7 separate regions of the Homo sapiens genome follow, and all the other regions are linked to region 4. Evidence: promoter capture Hi-C in 16 types of primary human blood cells and fetal thymus (Javierre and others, 2016). All regions are on one chromosome and are shown on one strand. The core of a region is centred on a gene start or on the middle of the fragment in contact, and the rest is flanking DNA. Distances in the headings are between cores, read along the strand shown.

Evidence for each region. Contacts are between HindIII fragments. The CHiCAGO score rates a contact against its expected background, and 5 or more counts as called.
Region 1: a fragment that was not itself captured here is called in contact with the fragment with the promoter of OTUD1 in region 4 in 1 of 17 cell types (total B cells); the score reaches 5.2 in total B cells.
Region 2: a fragment that was not itself captured here is called in contact with the fragment with the promoter of OTUD1 in region 4 in 1 of 17 cell types (total B cells); the score reaches 6.9 in total B cells.
Region 3: a contact is called between a fragment that was not itself captured here and the fragment with the promoter of OTUD1 in region 4, in 1 of 17 cell types (non-activated CD4 T cells). The highest score is 5.4, in non-activated CD4 T cells.
Region 5: a contact is called between a fragment that was not itself captured here and the fragment with the promoter of OTUD1 in region 4, in 1 of 17 cell types (total B cells). The highest score is 5.5, in total B cells.
Region 6: a fragment that was not itself captured here is called in contact with the fragment with the promoter of OTUD1 in region 4 in 1 of 17 cell types (total CD8 T cells); the score reaches 5.1 in total CD8 T cells.
Region 7: a fragment that was not itself captured here is called in contact with the fragment with the promoter of OTUD1 in region 4 in 1 of 17 cell types (non-activated CD4 T cells); the score reaches 5.3 in non-activated CD4 T cells.

Annotation. Positions count from the first base shown.
Region 1 is chr10:22,324,950-22,327,738 of GRCh38, forward strand. COMMD3-BMI1 (COMMD3-BMI1 readthrough) reads left to right here. Exons shown (of 14, transcript NM_001204062.2): 6 at 1,482-1,612; 7 at 1,941-2,037; 8 at 2,646-2,701. It overlaps BMI1 (BMI1 proto-oncogene, polycomb ring finger), which reads left to right. Exons shown (of 10, transcript NM_005180.9): 2 at 1,482-1,612; 3 at 1,941-2,037; 4 at 2,646-2,701. The coding sequence starts at 1,501. Among named protein-coding and RNA genes, the nearest start is that of BMI1, 5.2 kb to the left of the region's middle. RefSeq lists a silencer at 588-967. The HindIII fragment of the contact is 3,267 bases long and covers 1-2,789 here.
Region 2 is chr10:22,227,233-22,229,932 of GRCh38, forward strand. It overlaps TRN-GTT2-3 (tRNA-Asn (anticodon GTT) 2-3), which reads right to left and starts at 2,350; the gene lies at 2,277-2,350. RefSeq lists a silencer at 1,802-2,051. The HindIII fragment of the contact is 2,726 bases long and covers 1-2,652 here.
Region 3 is chr10:22,247,071-22,249,770 of GRCh38, forward strand. LOC105376447 (a long non-coding RNA gene) reads right to left here. Exons shown (of 2, transcript XR_001747390.3): 2 at 350-2,700. Among named protein-coding and RNA genes, the nearest start is that of TRN-GTT2-3, 19 kb to the left of the region's middle. The HindIII fragment of the contact is 225 bases long and covers 1,163-1,387 here.
Region 4 is chr10:23,437,779-23,440,478 of GRCh38, forward strand. It overlaps OTUD1 (OTU deubiquitinase 1), which reads left to right and starts at 1,297. Exons shown (of 1, transcript NM_001145373.3): 1 at 1,297-2,700. The coding sequence starts at 1,680. RefSeq lists silencers at 1,026-1,615, 1,666-2,005, 2,146-2,515. The HindIII fragment of the contact is 7,031 bases long and covers 904-2,700 here.
Region 5 is chr10:22,308,447-22,311,146 of GRCh38, forward strand. No RefSeq gene overlaps it. Among named protein-coding and RNA genes, the nearest start is that of COMMD3, 6.6 kb to the right of the region's middle. The HindIII fragment of the contact is 2,535 bases long and covers 33-2,567 here.
Region 6 is chr10:24,633,820-24,636,570 of GRCh38, forward strand. ARHGAP21 (Rho GTPase activating protein 21) reads right to left here. Exons shown (of 26, transcript NM_020824.4): 5 at 1,192-1,284. Among named protein-coding and RNA genes, the nearest start is that of ARHGAP21, 89 kb to the right of the region's middle. The HindIII fragment of the contact is 246 bases long and covers 1,375-1,620 here.
Region 7 is chr10:25,018,486-25,021,185 of GRCh38, forward strand. All of the region lies in intron 1 of THNSL1 (threonine synthase like 1), which reads left to right. It also overlaps a transcript of ENKUR not described here. Among named protein-coding and RNA genes, the nearest start is that of THNSL1, 3.2 kb to the left of the region's middle. The HindIII fragment of the contact is 1,989 bases long and covers 396-2,384 here.

The DNA.
Region 1 (2,789 bases), core at 194-2,693, 1.1 Mb before region 4:
ACATTTGTTTTTCTCTCCTGTCGCTGCTTTGGGTTGACAAGCTGTTGATTTAGCGTTGGAAATGGGCTGGTCACATGGTTCTGTACATATTGTCACTATTGTACCGATTAAAGTACTTTTTCTTGCCCCCAGCATAGTTTGTCCAAATAAAACACTGGGCTTTGCCCTCTCCTCTTCTTGTAAAACAGATTTCAGTTTTCAGCCTTTCCAAAACTTTGTATCGCTCATTTAATCTACAGGAGAGCGTCACATTAGAGAAGGAAGTTTTAAAGAGGTTCGGTTCAATAAACATCTCTGCAATTTGAGCCCTGACGGTTTCGGGCTAAGTGCACAGTTGGCAATTCTCAAAAAATCCCTTCGTGAAATTTCTGACCGAGTGATTGCAGACAGGACAGACCGAGAGAGTCGAGATCTGAAACCAGCTCTGCGCACCAAGTCGACGTGAAAAGAGGCCCCCGGAGTGTCCGAAATGGCCGGGAGTGCGGTTTGCATTTTCCTTTCGCGGGCGCTGCCGCAGGCTCCGGGGTCCCCGCCGCCCAGGACTGGGTCCCTGGTCCCCGATCCCCGCTCCCCGCTCCCCAGCGCTGTGGCCTCGTGGGGCTGCCCCGCCCCCCCGGCGTCGCCGCACCCACCCCGCCCCCGCGCCGGCCCCGCCCCCGCGGCGCGCCGCCCCTCCCCCGCCCGCCCGCCCGCCCGCCGCCCCGCACGCCCGCCGAGGCTCGGGGCTCGGGCCGGGCTCCGCGCGGAGTTGCAGCGGTGGCCGGATGCCAAGTGTAAGTGTAAGTTGCTATGGAAACCCCGACCGAGGCGAGTTCCGAATCCGGAGCGAGACGGAGCCCCGGGCGCCGCCGGATCCGCCCCTCGCATCCCGGCCCCCGGGCGTCCGCCGCGCTCAGGCCCCGGCCCAGGCCGACTGGAGGTGCTCCTCCTGCGGCCCCAGCACCCGGCTCCGGAAATGCCAGGGATGCAGGGAGGGCAGAATTGTTTTCCCTGCGCGTCGCGTAAAAACGTGCCAGGTTCTGCTTGCTGGAACCGTCTAAAACAACCGGAACCCCGGATTTTCACTTGCAGATTCTTGAGGAAGTTTTATAATAAATTCGGAGACCTGGAACAAGCCCTAGTGGTTGGTAAATATCCGCGGGGATTGTGTGGCGTCTGCAGCAGCCTTGGGGCTGCTGGGCTGGAGGACAAATGGAAGAAAGAGACCCTAATACGCTCAGCTCCCAGCCCCCACCCCAGACTTTCTTCTACCTACAGGAATGATCTGAGAGACCAGAAGTAATGTTAGTTGGATCCTTTTGCATCAGTTTGGTAGAACTGATTCCGATCTGATGAGTAAATTCCTTCTGTAGAAACGTTAGGACAGCCCAGCTGTACAGTGTTAAATGAGTTTTATAAATTCAGTGTTTCAGGGTTTGTGATTACTAGATGATCTCCATTCTTGTTCTGTGAATTATGGCCATTATTTCTGTGTCTTGCAGGATTTTTTATCAAGCAGAAATGCATCGAACAACGAGAATCAAGATCACTGAGCTAAATCCCCACCTGATGTGTGTGCTTTGTGGAGGGTACTTCATTGATGCCACAACCATAATAGAATGTCTACATTCCTGTAAGTACCGAGCTTTAGCTCTCTTTTGTATCATGCGTATTTCACAGTTCGACCTGGAATTTGAAAACTGTTAATGATTCCTGCAATCTGTGGAAATGTTGGTACAAAGTGGTGAAGGCATTTTCTTCTCTTGCATCTAATGACTTTTTGTTAATATGTATTGATTGTATTACAAGCATGCAATATATGTGTTCTCAGGATATGAATTAGCTTATTTAGTTGGAAATGCCTTTCACCATCTTGTTTTCTACTAGTTCTGGGTTTCTAACACCAATGATTTATCCACTCATTTCTAAACATAAAAAAACTTCACATGTTCTACTTCTAGTCTGTAAAACGTGTATTGTTCGTTACCTGGAGACCAGCAAGTATTGTCCTATTTGTGATGTCCAAGTTCACAAGACCAGACCACTACTGAATATAAGGTAGGAAACTGTTGAAATTCCTTGTTTGTAATTATTATTGGAGTTGTATAATTTACTGAAGGCAACCCTCTTTATTTCTTCACAGAAAATTTACTCTTGAATACATAACTAATATGTGTGTGCTTTGTGGAGGGTAGCCGTTTAATTTCTTGCCATATTAATGGTGACCAAGTTTAGACAAAGTTTAGTAGTATTCAAGTGATTTTAAGATTTTTTTTTCCTAACTGTCCTTTAAAAACTGAGTTAGTTCACCTTTTTTGCATTGCTTTATGGACTTCATGACAGGCAGGAATAAATATTTAAAAGGGCTTCCATTCCTCTTTATTCCCTATTCATATTAGCTAGTTTAGTAACTTGAAAGGCACACTTCTTTTGACAGAGCAAATGTGAAGAATTTATTAGTGAATATAAAATATTTTTCTACTGATTTAAAAAGTGCTATATACAGAGAACTTTTATTCTCATAGTTTTTATCTTATCAATAATAGTTATAGACAGCATCACAATCAAGTAAAATATTATAGCACAAAAGAAGACTATAGAAACTTATGAACATTTTTAGTTCTTGCCATCTGAATTCATAGTTTTCTATTTTAATTATTTTTCAGGTCAGATAAAACTCTCCAAGATATTGTATACAAATTAGTTCCAGGGCTTTTCAAAAGTGAGTAACTTGCTTAGAAAATGAATTTAAAGAGATTATTCATTAGTTCTTTGTGTTATGCCAAATGTTTACATCTTTTTTCCCCATT
Region 2 (2,700 bases), core at 40-2,539, 1.2 Mb before region 4:
CTCCTCAGAAATAGCATTTATTGCAACATCAACAACCATGACACGTTGAAATTTTATAAGGCCAATGCATCCATAAATATTTGTGCAATTCTTCCAAATTGTTGCCCACCTACCTTTTTTTTTTTCTTGAGACAGGGTCTCACTCTGTCACCCACGCTGGAGTGCAATGAAGTGATCACCATGCTGGGTTAATTTTTTATTTTGTGTAGAGATGCTGTCTCATTCTGTCGCCCAGGCTGGTCTCCAACTCCTGGGCTCAAGTAATCCTCCTGCCTTGGCCTCCTAAAGTGCTGAGACTACCGGTGTCAGCCACCCACACTGGGACCCACCTATCTTACCTGCCTGCAAGAGCCAAGGAAATGGCCTAAGCACTTGTCCACATAATCACAGCAACTGCTTCTGCTTACATTAGAGGGGAGTTTTGCACTCAGTGTGACACCTCCATTCCCATTTAATTCTCCTCCATTTTCTGGTCTCTAAATCATATTAATACCCAAAATAGGGTGAAATAGAATGTATTTAGAAATTTAAGATCAAATTTTAAACTGCCACCTAGGCCCCTGGTCAAGTACAAATTCTGGTACTATCTCACAAAAGTGTCCTGAAACAGGGGTCTACGTGGATGTGCCAATTCCCAAACATCAGCTTGGGGTCAAAGAATCCTTAGTCTCTAGACTCCATGGCCTGAATCTATCCTGAATCTGTCTCCTTCCAGATTTTGCCTGCCTCTCTCTCTCATCTTGCCTTCTGTACCTAAATGCTAACAAATTGTTTCCCTAAGACAGATTCCCCAGGAATACTTCCTATGCACACACAGCTTTCATTTGAATAAAATTGAGCAGCCCAATGAATGCATAATTTAACAATGCCCTTTAGCACGCCACAAATGTTGTGTTGGTTTTTATTTTACCCCCTTTACAAGATTTGGAGCAAAATATTAACGAAACTTCATAAAAACCAATTCAAGTATCTTTTGGTTTCAAATTAACTAATTAGGTAGCTGTATTTTAGAGGAAGGAACTTCCAAGAAGGCAGTACATCAGGGAGGAGCTTGGGCTTGGGCCTGACTACCCAGGTTCCAAACTCACTGTGACTTCCGGCAAATTACTCAGCTATTTACTCAGTCGCACTGTGCCTCAGTTGCCTCATCTGTACAATGGCAATAATAGGACCTGGAAGACTTATGAAGATTACATACCTTTCTCCACGAAAGCACTCAATAAAATAAGCCTTTATTAATATGTCAACTGAGCTGAAACATAACGAATATAAAACAATATATCCACAGGAATAAGATGTATTAGTTCTTACACTTTTCTTCAAAACTGTCTTTCAATTTTCTGTAGTCCAAGCCAAAACAATAATTATTATGATGAAACTATGATTATTTCTCAAAGTAATAAAATAGAAGGAAACTATTTTGAGAGGGCTTTGCATTTGGGGAAATAAAAGGTAGGGGACGTTGAAAGTAGAAAGTTGAAGCAAAGTATGGTAGCAGCTTCACATTCAATCTTTCTCATCATTCTTTTTTTTCAGGTTTAACAGTCATACTATTGTAAAAGAGGTTTTCTCCTTTTCCGCCTTGATGGGAAGTGTTGCAGGCTTATTCTATTCTCTACTAAATTCAAGCGTTTTAGTAGAAAAAGTAAAATATAATATATATTCTTACAATATTGTCCACACGAAAGATTTACTACACAAAAATTATTTCTGAAGGCATTAATACCAGGAACAATTAATGTTTAAGTCGCAAACGGAGATGTTTACGCTGACAGGGAACAGACAAAAGGGCGGCCATGCTTCAACAAAATGTAGGAGTTTTCAGTTTGCAGCTTGAACTTGACACTGTTGAAATACATGCATTTCGGTGGCCCCGTTACATTTCACGCGTCACGAAGCCGAGCAAGACCAGCCCGGGCCGCCTTCCCCGTGTACGCGCGGGCCTCCGGGGACGCGCAGAGCTGGAGCGGCGGGCGCGCGCGGCAAACGGGCCCGCGCGGCCTCTGCGCGTCCCCGCTCCAGCACCCTGGCGAGGCCTAGACCGCCGTGAAGACCCCGGGGAAGGAGTGGCCGCGCTCACCTGCAGCCGGGAGAGGACAGCGGGGGAGAGGAGGCCGCTCTGCACCGGCCGAAAGCGAAGGGCTCGCCGGCTGGCCGCGTAGTGTAAGGGTCGGTGGTTTCTTTGCTTGGTCCCTGGAAATCCACCCCTTCTTATCCCGGAGGCCTGAACTCGATTTCTGCAAAACTTCCCGCGACCAGCTCATAAAAGGAGAGCGCGTCCCTGGGTGGGCTCGAACCACCAACCTTTCGGTTAACAGCCGAACGCGCTAACCGATTGCGCCACAGAGACTTCGGTGTCATTTTCCCCTTCTGCCTCAGCCTTTATGAAGAATAATAAAGGCAGTGTGTGGCTGTTTCTGCTTTCTGATTGGTACTATCAGAACCAAAATATTTTACTTCACGTTTCCAACCCTCTTAATTCTATTTTCCACCTTTTAAGCATATCGCAAAATTATACAACAAAATCAAGCAGCATTGCAGATTGCAAAATGTATTAAAATACTGTTGCTCCCCCCCGCCAACTCCCATTTGGAACGTTGTATTTCAGGAAAATAACTATTTCTTATTAGTTTTCTTTTATGAGAAAATCAAAGCTTTCATCTTGTGAGCTGAGAAACTTTCCCTTTGTTTCGAACAATT
Region 3 (2,700 bases), core at 25-2,524, 1.2 Mb before region 4:
TGTCCCAGTTCTGGCTAATATGATGTAAGAGGAAATCCTTTGGTGGGGCATTTTGGAAAATATTATACTTCCTTGACGTGAGTAAGACTCACCAAGAACAAATTTTCTGTTGCCTTCCCACCCAGCAGTCAGTGTGGTTTTTGTACTTACGGCAGCCATTTTGCAACTATGATATGAAGGTCAACTGAATCACAGAGGTGATATCACTGAACCCCCAAGAAAACACTAGCAACTCTTTATCTACAGACTTCTTGTCACATAAGAAAAATGAGCCTCTGTGTTAGCTGGGTTGTCTGTTACATTCTAACTGATATAAGAAGAGAGAAAAGAGAGACAAATGAGAGACCACTGTTCTTAGTGAATATATTACAACTAGTACAGTTTGGTGGCTGCAGGATACAGAGTTTGTTTGGTAATTTTGGAAAGAGGCTGGAAATGGAAAAGCAATGGGTTACAGGGGCTTCTAATGCCAATGAAGAGAAAGGCTTTAATTTTGTTGGCAATAGGGGGCTATAGAGGTTTTGGGGTAATGTTTTGGAACTTTAAGAAGAGTGCTTTGGCAGAAATCAGCAGGGTCTATATGTGCCCAAAGAGTGATGCCTCAGAAGCAATGCATTTGGCATAATCATATTGGTATTGTCCACCACGAGAATCACTTGGTATACAAACCTGGCTCACTCAGTTCACACTGAATAAGCAAAACAATAACCACTTGGCTTCATGATGCTTTTCGACCTAAAATAAACACAAGGTATCAAAGCAAATGAAATGTTACATCTTTCCAGTGCTCCATATGAATAATCCCTGTGGAAGTTATAAGTAAACAAAACTTCTGTTCATAAAAAGTATCAATGACAGATGTAAATACTGTATAAACTCCTGCCATATAAAAGGAGAAAATGAGATCTCACATATCCTTCCACAATACCAATTCCTGACACTTAGCACAACAAATTAGACACACTTAATAATTATTACACACTAGGCTTGAGATTATTCAATAGTTTTTTAACCGTGTTTCTATAATGGTGTGGAGGTTTTTGTTTGCTCACTTTTTAAAAACATTTTCCACGATTTCATTATAGGAGAATAAATGCTCTTATACATAGTCATAGTTTCAAATATGTTTCTGTTCTTCTCATTTAAATCTACTCAGAAAACAAGCTTACAACAGAAGCCAAACTAGGAAAATCTCTGCTGTGAGTATCATATAATATTCAAACACTGCCCAGGAAAAACACTGGGGAATGGTGTTTTCTTTGCCCTCAAAGAAAAGCACGTGAACACCATCTTACAAGATTATTATTGACTAAGGAAAAGAAATGTGTCATTTGTTCATTCTTTAGACTAGGAATTGATGTTAGAGATTTTTAAATAAATTATAACAAGCTTTTAACAATCTACAAAGAACAAAAAGTGTTAATGTCTTCCCATAGTTGCCTCTGATCTTTTTATAAAGAATTGCTGTGGGCTGGGCGCAGTGGCTCATGCCTGTAATCCCAGCACTTTGGGAGGCTGAGGTGGGCGGATCAACTGAGGTCAGGAGTTCGAGACCAGCCTGGCCAAAATGGTGAAACTCCGTCTCTACTAAAAAACACAAAAATTAGACGGGCATGGTGGCAGGTGCCTTAACTGGCTACTTGGGAGGCAGAGGCAGGAGAATCATTTGAACCCGAGAGGCGGAGGTTGCAGTGAGCCGAGATCGAGTCATTGTACTCAAGCCTGGGGGACAAAAGCAAGACTCTGTCTCAAAAAAAAAAAAAAAAAGAGTTGTTGCCCCCTGGGCAGGAAGTTGTTGCCCTCTTCCTATTCCCCCTCCTTCCTTCTTTCTTTCTATCCCAAAGGAAATTACATTTTTTGAAGTTGATATGTATTCATCCTATTGATAGTACTATACTTTCACTTCATATGTATATATCCTGGCCCACATCTTTTATTTATGAAATTCATTATACATAAATTAGTAAATTCTTTCTATATAAGTTATTTATACATTTTGAATATGAATCCTTCACCAAGTACATGCCTTGAAAATATCTTCTCAGTTTATCTTGTAACATTTTATGATATCTTTTGTCATGTAAAAAGTATTTTTAAAAATTTTTATATACAGTCACATGGCACTCAACTACAGGGACATATTCTGAGAAATAGGTCCATAGGCAGTTTTGTCATGCTAACATCATAGAGTGTAATTACACAAACCTAGATGGTTTGTATATGGTACAAGCCTATTGCTCCTAGGCTGCAAACCTGTACAGCATGTGACTGTATTGAATACTGTAGGCAATTGTAACACAATGGTATTTGTATAATTAGACACATCTACACATAGAAAAGGTACAGTAAATATACAATATTATAACCTTATGGGACTATTATCATGTATTGACTAACATATCATTATTTGGAGCATGACTGTCATCCAATTGATCATTTCCTTAATGGATTGTGTATTTTAATGTTTTGTTTAAGAAATCCTTTCATACTACAAATTCTATATTTCCTTTCAATTTTTTTTGTTTTTTTTTGAGATGGAGAGTTACAGAGATAACTCTGCTGCCAGGCTAGAGTGCAGTGGCGCGATCTCGGCTCACTGCAATCGCTGCCTCCCAGGTTCAAGCGATTCTCCTGCCTCAGCCTCCCGAGTAGCTGGGATTACAGGCATGTGCCACCACAACCAGCTAATTTTTGTATTTT
Region 4 (2,700 bases), core at 47-2,546:
ATAGTCTATCTTGCCCCGGAATGCAGGTCACGACTTTCTCCACCGCTTTTGACCTCTGGCTAGCATTCACACCTATTCTCAAAGGGCCCTAAGTGATACTGCATTTGGTATTCTGAGAAAGCTTGTTTATAAAAGCCTAAAAGGCTTCCTTGCTTTCCCCCAAGCCAGATATTTGCCAAATGGCATAGGTCAGAGGTGCAAAGTTGGTTTTGTCTTAGCAAGGCAAGAGAATCCACTAGCGGACTCACCCTTACCGGTGAGTCCAAGGAAATGCATAGAAAAGACACAGTGGTAAAACTAGCTGGGCACCTGTAATCCCTGCCCAAGGCAAGGCTGAGGAAGGGGGATCACTTGGGCCCTGGAGGTCGAGGTCGCAGTGGGACATGATGGCGCCACTGCACTCAGCCTGGAAGGCAGAGCAAGACCTTGCCTCAAAAAGAAAAAGAAAAAAAAAAAAAGGAAAAGACGCGGCGGTTCCACGAGTGGTGGCTAGGACCCATAATCCCAACACTTTAGGAGGTCGAGGCGGGAAACAGCTTGAGGCCAGTAGTTCGACACCAGACTGGGCAACTGTGGTGAGACCCTCGCCTTAAAAAAAAAGAAAGAAAGAAAGAAAGAAAATTAGCCGGGTGCGGTGGTGCACACCTGTGGTTTCCAGTTACTCTGGAGGTTGAGGCGGGAGGATCGCTTGAGCCCGGGAAGTCAAGGCTGCAGTGAGCTATGGACTGCGCCACTACACTCTAGCTTCGGAGACAGGTAAGACCCCCATCTCTAAAAAGATAAAAGAAAAGAGGCAGTAGTGAATGCAAGCAGGGATGGTAGCCCATGACCAGCAGAGGCCAAACAGACTTTAAGGCAGCATTCCGTTCTCCACACCCATGCCGGAAGCTTTCCTGCCACGCAAGCTTTCCGAGCATGCTAACTCGCCCCAAGCAGCTCCCATCCCGCAGCATCCACTGCAGCCGCTGAGGAGAGTGGCGCAGCGCAGAAACCAGTGCCCAGTGCCCAGGTGGGGGAAGCGGTCCGTGGGAGTCACGTGGGCGGGAGGCCCAGCCAGGATCCCAGGACTGCTCAGGCCTCCGCGCCCCCGGCCTCGCCCCGCCCGCGCGCGCTCGCGCGCCGAGGGCCACGCCCGTGACGTCGGCGGAGCGCGGTAGGGGGCGGGGCGCGGGCCGGAGTGGGCGGGGCGAGCAGGCGCGACTGAATCGGGCGCCGCAAAGAGCCGCGCATTCCAGTGAGTCCACGTGACGCGGCCGCGAGGCCTGAGGTAAACAACCGCGGCCCCGCCTCCCGGGCCTCCGCGCGCACCGCGCTCCTCCTCGCCGGCGGGACGCGCTCCAACGGGGCGGGCGGCTTCCTCCGTGAGTCCCCAGCGGCCGCCGCGGGCCGAAGCAGCTGCAGCGGGCGCGGCGCCCCGGGTCTGCGGGCCGAGCGCACCGGCAGGGGTCGAGCTCGCGTCCCGTCCCCGCCCCCCTGCGCTGTGGCGCAGCAGGAATTTGGCCGGGACCCGGGCGCTATTCGCGGCTGCTGACTCGCGGCGGCCGGCTGCCTTTCGCTCATCTCTATTCTGGGGCCGTTGGGTCACCGCGCTCCGCCGGCCCCCTCCCCCGGGCCCGGAGGGTGTGTCCCCCGCTCCGGGGCTCGCCGCGCCTATAAGGGGCCGAGCGGCGGGCAGGGACATGCAGCTCTACAGCAGCGTCTGCACCCACTACCCCGCCGGGGCCCCGGGTCCCACGGCCGCCGCCCCCGCGCCACCCGCCGCCGCTACCCCCTTCAAGGTCTCGCTGCAGCCCCCGGGAGCCGCCGGCGCCGCGCCCGAGCCCGAGACCGGTGAGTGCCAGCCCGCCGCGGCCGCCGAGCACCGGGAAGCCGCCGCTGTCCCCGCCGCCAAGATGCCCGCCTTCTCCTCCTGCTTCGAGGTGGTGTCCGGGGCCGCCGCGCCCGCCTCCGCCGCCGCCGGCCCGCCCGGCGCGTCCTGCAAGCCGCCGCTGCCGCCGCACTACACGTCCACCGCACAGATCACCGTGCGGGCCCTGGGCGCCGACAGGCTCCTGCTGCACGGGCCCGATCCCGTTCCCGGCGCCGCGGGCTCCGCCGCTGCCCCGCGCGGCCGCTGCCTCCTGCTCGCCCCGGCGCCCGCAGCCCCGGTCCCGCCGCGGCGGGGCTCCTCGGCCTGGCTCCTGGAGGAGCTGCTGCGGCCCGACTGCCCCGAGCCCGCGGGCTTGGACGCGACACGGGAGGGGCCCGATCGGAACTTCCGACTGAGCGAGCACCGCCAGGCCCTGGCCGCCGCCAAGCACCGAGGCCCCGCGGCGACCCCGGGGAGCCCCGATCCCGGCCCCGGTCCGTGGGGCGAAGAGCACTTGGCGGAGAGGGGCCCCAGGGGCTGGGAGAGGGGCGGCGATCGCTGCGACGCGCCCGGTGGGGACGCGGCGCGGAGGCCCGACCCAGAGGCCGAGGCACCCCCCGCCGGGAGCATCGAGGCCGCCCCGAGTAGTGCGGCGGAGCCGGTGATCGTCTCCAGGTCGGATCCCAGAGACGAGAAGCTGGCCCTATACCTGGCCGAGGTGGAGAAGCAGGACAAGTATCTGCGGCAGAGGAATAAGTACCGATTCCACATCATTCCAGACGGCAACTGCCTCTACCGAGCTGTCAGCAAGACGGTGTATGGGGACCAGAGCCTGCACCGGGAGTTGAGGG
Region 5 (2,700 bases), core at 50-2,549, 1.1 Mb before region 4:
TATACTATTTATAGCAATGGACAGATACTTAAAGCTTACTTAGCTAAAGATTTAAGTCTGTTACTTTATGACATATGCTTTCCCCCAACCCCTGTTAACACGGCAGGATGTTTGCAAAATGACTACTCTCCTGTAGTGACTCTTGATTTTAACCTAACAGACTATCATTATGACTCAGTTTGAACATTTGTCATCATAGATGTCATAGTTTCTACAAACAGACAAATATTGATCATAGCAACTTTTAGAAATAGAATAAAACCAAAATGAAATTAAAATTAATTTAAAAGTATTCGTTTGAAAACACTCTTTTAGGTTTCTAGAAGCACTTTAATTATTGGTTAAACTGACTTCTAAACATCTGTATTTTATATTTTTATTTATGTTCATCTTGCTACAAAAATAATTTAAGGCAACTTTCAAAAGTATATAAAAACATATGTAAGAATATTATTTTCCTTCTATTATAATTGACAAGTGCAAAATCAATTTTTTTCCAACATTTCCAGTATACACTGTTGAAAGTTCTTTATAAAGAAGAATGTATATTGCTATTGAAACTTATAAAACAAAATATGTATGTCTTTATTGATACTTTTGGTCTTATAAAACTATTTTTTATTTCAATTCATAAACATTTTAATTATTGTTTAAGCAAAAATAAAAGTTTTCTTATAGATCTATCAACTACTCACCTATATATCACAGCTAGGCCTAATTTAAAATTTTCTTTCATTTTCAAATTCTAAGAAAACCATTTGAAAATTCAGTTTTCTTAGGGCCTTGTTTACCCACATATTTCCATCTACATTGTTATTCTTTAGCAAATTTCTCCTGTTTTTGGTCTGTAATTTATAGAGCACTAAAAGTCAAATAAAAGTTGCCAATTATCTGATTAATTTTGATTTAGAATACTGCTGCTCTAAATGATCCGGCCTATTTCTGTTAGCATTAAAAAAAAAGAAAAAAGAAAAAAAGAAAAGAAAGTTGAGTAATTACGCCAGTAATTCAGGTCCAAGTTTCTAATTACATGGACTAAACTGACTATATAAATACAATTCTCCCTTTCACCTGTTGCTAGTCATTATTTTCTTGGTGTTTTGTTACATTAAAAAGATTTTATAAAACTTGCCTCCCCATCCCCTTTCATAAAATATAGATTAAAATGCTTACACAAAGAAAATTAATTTTGAAAATAACATTTGAGAGAGTTAGAAAAACATTTATGTTTTAACCTTAATAAAACAATGAAACAAAAGTTCAGGGAAAAACTGAGTATATGGGAAGAAACACAGTGGAAAAGTTTAATCTATTTTTTTAGGTGCTTGTTTTCTCAAAACTCTGTAAAACTACTTTCTAAACATTCACCACGGTGTAAAAATCAGCTACGTATAAACAATTCAAAGTATTTTCTGAATAGTTCTAGCTATGTAACAAATGTGAAAAAGCTGAACACAATTATTCTACTAGGATTTTTAAAAATGTAGTTTTTAGACTGACTTATCCATAAAATGGCTTCAAGTCTATATTTAATTTGAAAAGGGGGATAAAATCAGTATTCTGTTGAATATAACAACCATAATAGAAAAGTTAAATTCTTTTTTTTTGAGACAGAGTCTCACTCTGTTGCCAGGCTGGAGTGCAATGGCACGATCTTGGCTCACTCAACCTCCGACTCCCAGGTTCAAGCAATTCTCCTGCCTCAGCCTCCCTAGTAGCTGGATTACAGATGCATGCCACCACGCCTGGCTAATTTTTGTATTTTTGGTAGAGACAGCGTTTCACCATGTTGGCCAGGATGGCCTCGATCTCCTGACCTCATGATCCACCCACCTCGGCCTCCCAAAGTGCTGGGATTACAAGCGTGAGCCACCGCGCCCGGCCCAAAATGTTAAATTCTTAACCAGTATCATTTTAAATATTGTACACAATTAAAAATATTAAAACACTTATCTAGGCTTTCATTGCCATGTAAGCTCTTTTGAAATATTAATTTTGGTTTAAATGCTTACTTTAAATGAGTTAAAAGTACTTTAGCTGTAAAGTCTCCTTAACTGTTTATAATGTATTTAATGCAAATCATCCCTTCTTATATACTAACTTCCATTCTAAAATGCTTCATTTGACAAGTGAATATAGTTACATTTTTCAGTTTATAAGCAATTATACTGTTACTTTGGTTTTAATCTACAAAAACCTTTATTTTTGTTTTCATTTTTGTTTGTAAAATTATAGTTCCTTAAACAAAATATACTTATTTGTACACATTTTAACATGTAAAAAGCATGTTCTCAAAATACAAACTTGAAAAAGTTACTGGCTTTCAACAATAATATCCCACAGCATAGGCCCATTTGTTCCATTTTTTGCTGGAATTCGTGAAACCAACCCAAACTCCAATTTCTAAGGTATGAAAAAACACAGAGATTCCAAATCCAGACCTAAAAAACGAAGAGACTCTGTTAGACATTCTCTGCTGTTGTAGTCTAAATGTAGGACATCTTGAAACTGATTAGATTCTGGACAAAACAGATGATCTTTCAGTCTTTTCCAAGCCTTACTAATGAAGCTTAGTTGAATTCATTGTAGCTAAAAGAATCTTGGATTGTGTCACAGAAAATAAACACTAAATAAGCTTTCTGTGACACTTCTCAGGTCCTTTCTCTCTTCCTTCCTCTTCCTCTTTCCCCCCTTTCTCTC
Region 6 (2,751 bases), core at 248-2,747, 1.2 Mb after region 4:
CCTATCAGTTGTTTCCTGAGTTGCAGAACTAATTATCTCTCCACGTACCCTGTCTTTTTTTCTCTTTTTTTTTTTTTTTTTTTTTTTTTTTGAGACAGAGTCTCACTCTTGTCTCCCAGGCTGGAGTACAGTGGTGCAATCTCGGCTTACTGCAACCTCTGCCTCCCGGGTTCAAGCAATTCTCTTTCTACTCTGAGTAGAGTAGGAAAGGAAAAGACAGAAACAAAGAACAGAGGAAAGAAGAAAATAGGCAAAAATGTACTTTTTGTGTGCTTATCACAGCATATCTCCACTTCATCTTCCCAATCATGTGGGGCTTAAAATACGACAGATGATACATTCTAAAGAAATCCCACATGCATACTAATATACATATTATACATATTAATGATATTTAAATCAGGCTTACTTTAAGTATAATAAAAAAAACTAAGGTGGGTAATACATTAACAGTACATCCTTATAAATCTTAGCAATGATGTCCACTACTTTCTAATATTTGTAGGTGAAAATATAGCATTGTATTTAAAAGGCAGTGAAATATAGCTTTTCAATAATTCCCATTTTAAATTGTCTAATGTTTAAAAAACAAAAGAAAAGAGTATTTTAGAGTGTGCACTAATATAAATGAAATCTCTACTTAGGGTTTATTAAAATCACAAATCACAAAACATTTTAGAACAAACAGCTACTATATCCAGCCAATTAAGCCACATATACTGACACCTTCAGATGAAGCCAGGCTTATGTTCCGCATTGGAGACTTAAGCCACTTTGTGCTGCAAATTAATTAACTCAACTCTGTCAGATCAGGCACTTCCAGAACTTGAAAATCCAAGATTATTTCACTTATATCAAATAAATACCTTCATCATTTTGCTACTTTGTAATCCTTTGTCAAAATTCAATGCATGCAAAATTTGTTCCTTTAAAGAGCCTCTAAGAGTCTATCATCTGTGTGGTAATTAAAAGTGCTCACAGTGTATCAATTTATATTGTTATTTCTGTTCAAACCCATTCATATGGGCACCAAGAAACATAATTAGTTCTCAAAATTAGTAACAACAGATGTGAAGGAAAAGGAAGAAGCATACAGAAAGATACAAAAGGAAAAAATATCGAACATGAAATATGGAAGAAATAAAGTGAAAAAGAAATTAAAACGTATTGTTTAAAGAAGAATATCAGCACCTGTACATAATCCAGCTTCAAAAGCAGGTCCTCCTTCTTTAACTTGCTTAACAAATATGGTATCCATTGGTTCCAAGCGGTTTCTTTGTTTTCCTGTTACAGAGAAGCCCAAAGCATGATTTTACTTCACAATACTTTACTAAAATACCTAAATATAAAATAGTATTTGAGAGAATTAAGCAAAGCTTTTTAATGAAATATTAAATACATATCCTGAATTTGGATGCTAAAATTATAATGTAGGGGTTTTCATTTAATTCAAACATTTATTTTGCTTCTTCCATAACATAATGACAACCACAACACTGTAATGCTTTCCATTTACTGGCTACATTCCGTATGTCAGTTGCCACACTAAATACTGTATCTCAGAGCTAATTTCCACAGCAAGTAAGTACTACTACTACCATTCATAAAAGAGGAAACTGAAGCTTAGAGGGATTAAATAAAGTCTCCAAGGTCAAACAGCTAACAAGTGCCAAAGATGATTACACAGGCGGTACTCACTCCATGGCTTTTGTTTTTTGTTTTGTTTTGTTTTGTTTTGTTTTTTTGAGATGGAGTCTCACTCTGTCACCCAGGCTGGAGTGCAGTGGTGCAATCTTGGCTCACTGCAACCTCCACATCCCGGGTTCGAGTGATTCTCCTGCCTCAGCCTCCTGAGTAGCTGGGACTACAGGTGTACACCACCCCGCCTGCTAATTTTTGTATGTTTTAGTAGAGACGGGGTTTCACCATATTGGCCAGGCTGGTCTCGAACTCCTGACCCCGTGATTCACCCGCCCTGGCCTCCCAAAGTGCTGGGATTACAGGCGTGAGCCACCGTGCCCAGCCTCTACTGCTTCTTAATACTGCATTGTGCTAAGCATTAAAATGTAACAATGAACAAGACATATTCCTTTCCCTTCAGGGAGTCTGGTAGGAGGAGAAAGACATACAAACAAATAACAGTATAGTATAAAAAACAATCAGAGACAAATACAAAATACAGTCATGGCAATGAGGAGAGCATGATCAACCCCGTAAGTCAGAATTTCACAAGCTGTTTTCCATGGATCATTGGCATTAACATCTAAGGTGTTTGCTAAAAATGGATGTTTTGGAGTCTGACCAGAAATCTGCTCTGTCAACAAGTTTCCCAGATGATCCTAATACACATTAAATTTTGAGAACAACTAGTTGTTTCAGTGAAATAGAAGTCAAGGAAAAATTCGCAGATGAGAGGACATTTAAGCTAAGTGACAAACAGCATAAGTATTGTGGGGGAAGAAGGAGGTACACGGTAGTTCTAAAGGTGTGGTCCCAGGACCAGCAGCATCAGTATCACCTGGGAATATGTTAGGAATGCAAATTTGTGGACCCCACCCTAGATCTCCTGAATCAGAAACTCTGAGGTGATTGTGATGCACACTTAAGTTTGAGAATCACTGAAGTAGAAGACACAGTCCTGACCCTTAAAGAAGAATGTAACTGAGAAAATAAGGCATATACATGTGTTGAGTAACATGATACTACTTGTTAAACAGCAATACTGGGCAAAAAATGATTGAGTGTCAAATA
Region 7 (2,700 bases), core at 140-2,639, 1.6 Mb after region 4:
AGACGGTACTGAACAAATATGTGAGCACATGAATGACTGAAGTTGTGCTTCAAAGAAACTTGATTTATGAAAATGATGGTGGGCCAGATTTAGCCTGTGGATTGTAGTTTGCACAGATCCTAGATCCCCGTATATAATGGTATGCCTGTGATGTACATAAACAAATGAGAGTTGTTTTTTTTTTTTTTTTTTTTGCGAAGGATTATTTTAATCTATTTAAATGAATAAAATGGGTGTAGATGAGTATATAAGACAATTGGAAGGTAAATAAACCCTTTATAAAGACAGGTTCTTTATAATTCTCAAAGTTATAGAATTGTGGATACTAAAGTTTTCAATTAAATATTCGAGATCGTTAAGAATATGTCTAACAGCAGAAGTCTAACGGCAGAAAAAGCTTAGTCAGCTTTGATAGTAATATAAAGACTAAGTGATGAACTTGCAAAATTGTTTTAGTTGTGAGATCCTTGTGATTACAGAACTATACTGGATTGTGTGGTCCTTCCACCCTCACCTCTGTTTCATGGCAAGTGGGAGGCCCTCTGAATGAAAAGTTTGAGAGAATTTTTGGTCAGAAGTCAGAAGCAGTAGAGCTTAACCTCCTTTTGGCTAGTTTGTGTCCTGATACACAGTTAGTTCTCCATATCTGTGAATTTCCCATTCTCAGATTCAACTAATTACAGATTGAAAATATTTTAAAATTTTAGTTGGGCACAGTGGCTCATACCTGCAATCCAAGCACTTTTTGAAGGCCAAGGCAGGAAGACTGCTTGAGCCCAGGAGTTGGAGACCAGCCTGGGCAACATGGCGAAACCCCCTCTCTACTAAAAATACTAAAATTAGCTGGGTGTGGTGGTGCGTGCCTTTAGTCCCAGCTACTTGGGAGGCTGAGGTGGGAGGATTGCTTGAGCCTAGGAAGTCAAGGCTGTAGTGAGCCAAGATTGTGCCACTGCACTCCTGCCTGGGCAACAGAGTGGGAGCCTGTCTGAAAAACAAACAAAAACACGAAAATAATGGAACAGTAAAAATACCACAAACAAAAAAGCAAATTAGTACAACAGCTCTGTACCTAGCATTTGCATTGTATTATGTATTATAAGTTATTCAGAGATTAAGGTATACAGGAGGATGTGCACAGGTTATATGCAAATACTACACCATTTTATATAAAGGACTTGCACATCTGCAGATTTTTCTCACTCTAAAGTCAGTCCTATTAACTGCTAATTATCCAATATCCCTCTCAATGCTTAATCCAAATAATTGTTAAACACATGAAAGAGAAGAGTGTCAAGACCAAAAGCCTTGGAGTGCACTACCAGAAATTTCCCTCTATTCAACAGAACCATTTTTATGATCATTCAACAATATCCTCAAATCTTTTTTTTCCATTTCTCCGTGAATTAAAAAAATTTTAAATGAACCATGTGTAATGCTTTGGTGAAGTCCATATATATGCCTTCTATGTATATTCCCGAGTGGCCATTGCAGCAGACGTTCTCAAAAAAGAAATGAGGATGTCTTTTCCTCATTTGGTTGGTTAAAAAATGTTGAGCCCCTAAAATCAATTTGTGGTTAAATGTTACAAAATAAAATTTAGTATGTAGCTTAAAATAGAATATATCTTTATTGTTCTTTAGAAATAATATATATTATAGCACTTAACTGCCTTCTGCTAGTCTAAGGAACATGTTTGTGGGAAATAATATTGATACAGAATTTACAAATTGAACTGTCATAATTTTCTTTAAAATATATCTATATCTATATCTATATCTATATCTATATCTATATATATCTACCCCAAAGTCTTGAAAAAGGGAAGTGAAGTAAAATTTAAAAACAAGAGGGTAGAGGGGAACTAACATATAGGAAAAGTAAGATTGCAAAACATAAGGTGAAGGTAACATAATGTTTCCTTACAATCTACTTTTAATGAAGTTGATGTTAAGCATGGTAGCAAGCAATATAAAGCGGAAGAAAAGATGAAAGATTTACTGGGCCAGTATGGTGGTTCATGCCTCTAATCCCAGCACTTTGGGAGGCCAAAGTGGGAGGATTGCTTGAGTTCAGGAGTTCGAGATCAGTCTGGGCAACATGGTGAAACCCTGTCTCTAGAAAACCTACAAAAATTAGCTGGGTGTGGTGATGCACACCTGGTGGGAGGATCACCTGAGCCCAGGAGGTTGAGGCTGCAGTGAGCTGAGATCATGCCACTGCACTCCAGCCTGGGTGACAGTGGAAGACCCTTTCTCAAAAAAAAAAAAAAAATTACTGCTCATGAAAACCATCTACTCAGATTATATACAATTATTACTAATACAGGTATCAGAAAGTTATGTATTGCAAACTCAAAAAGAAGAAACTGTAATGTTACAAGCAAAAGCTTCCTGAATAGGAGGTTAATCAGACTGTTTTATGTAAGTGCCCTAAAAGCAGTTTGTGCTTTTAAAGTCCAGTACCAGAATATGGTTTAATAAAATAAATTGATGTTATGGTTCAAGTATATAATTCTTTCTGGTCCCTGGTTTACTTCAGGGAAAGGATTAGACTGTGCATGGCAAAACAGTTCTTGATTCGTGGGTGAACACCACGGTATTCTCTGAAGGTTTATAAACCAAACCATAAAAAAAATGCACCCTGCCTTGTACCTACATATTTGGGTTCAATTTATATATTCCTAGCCCACTGTCAGTGAGT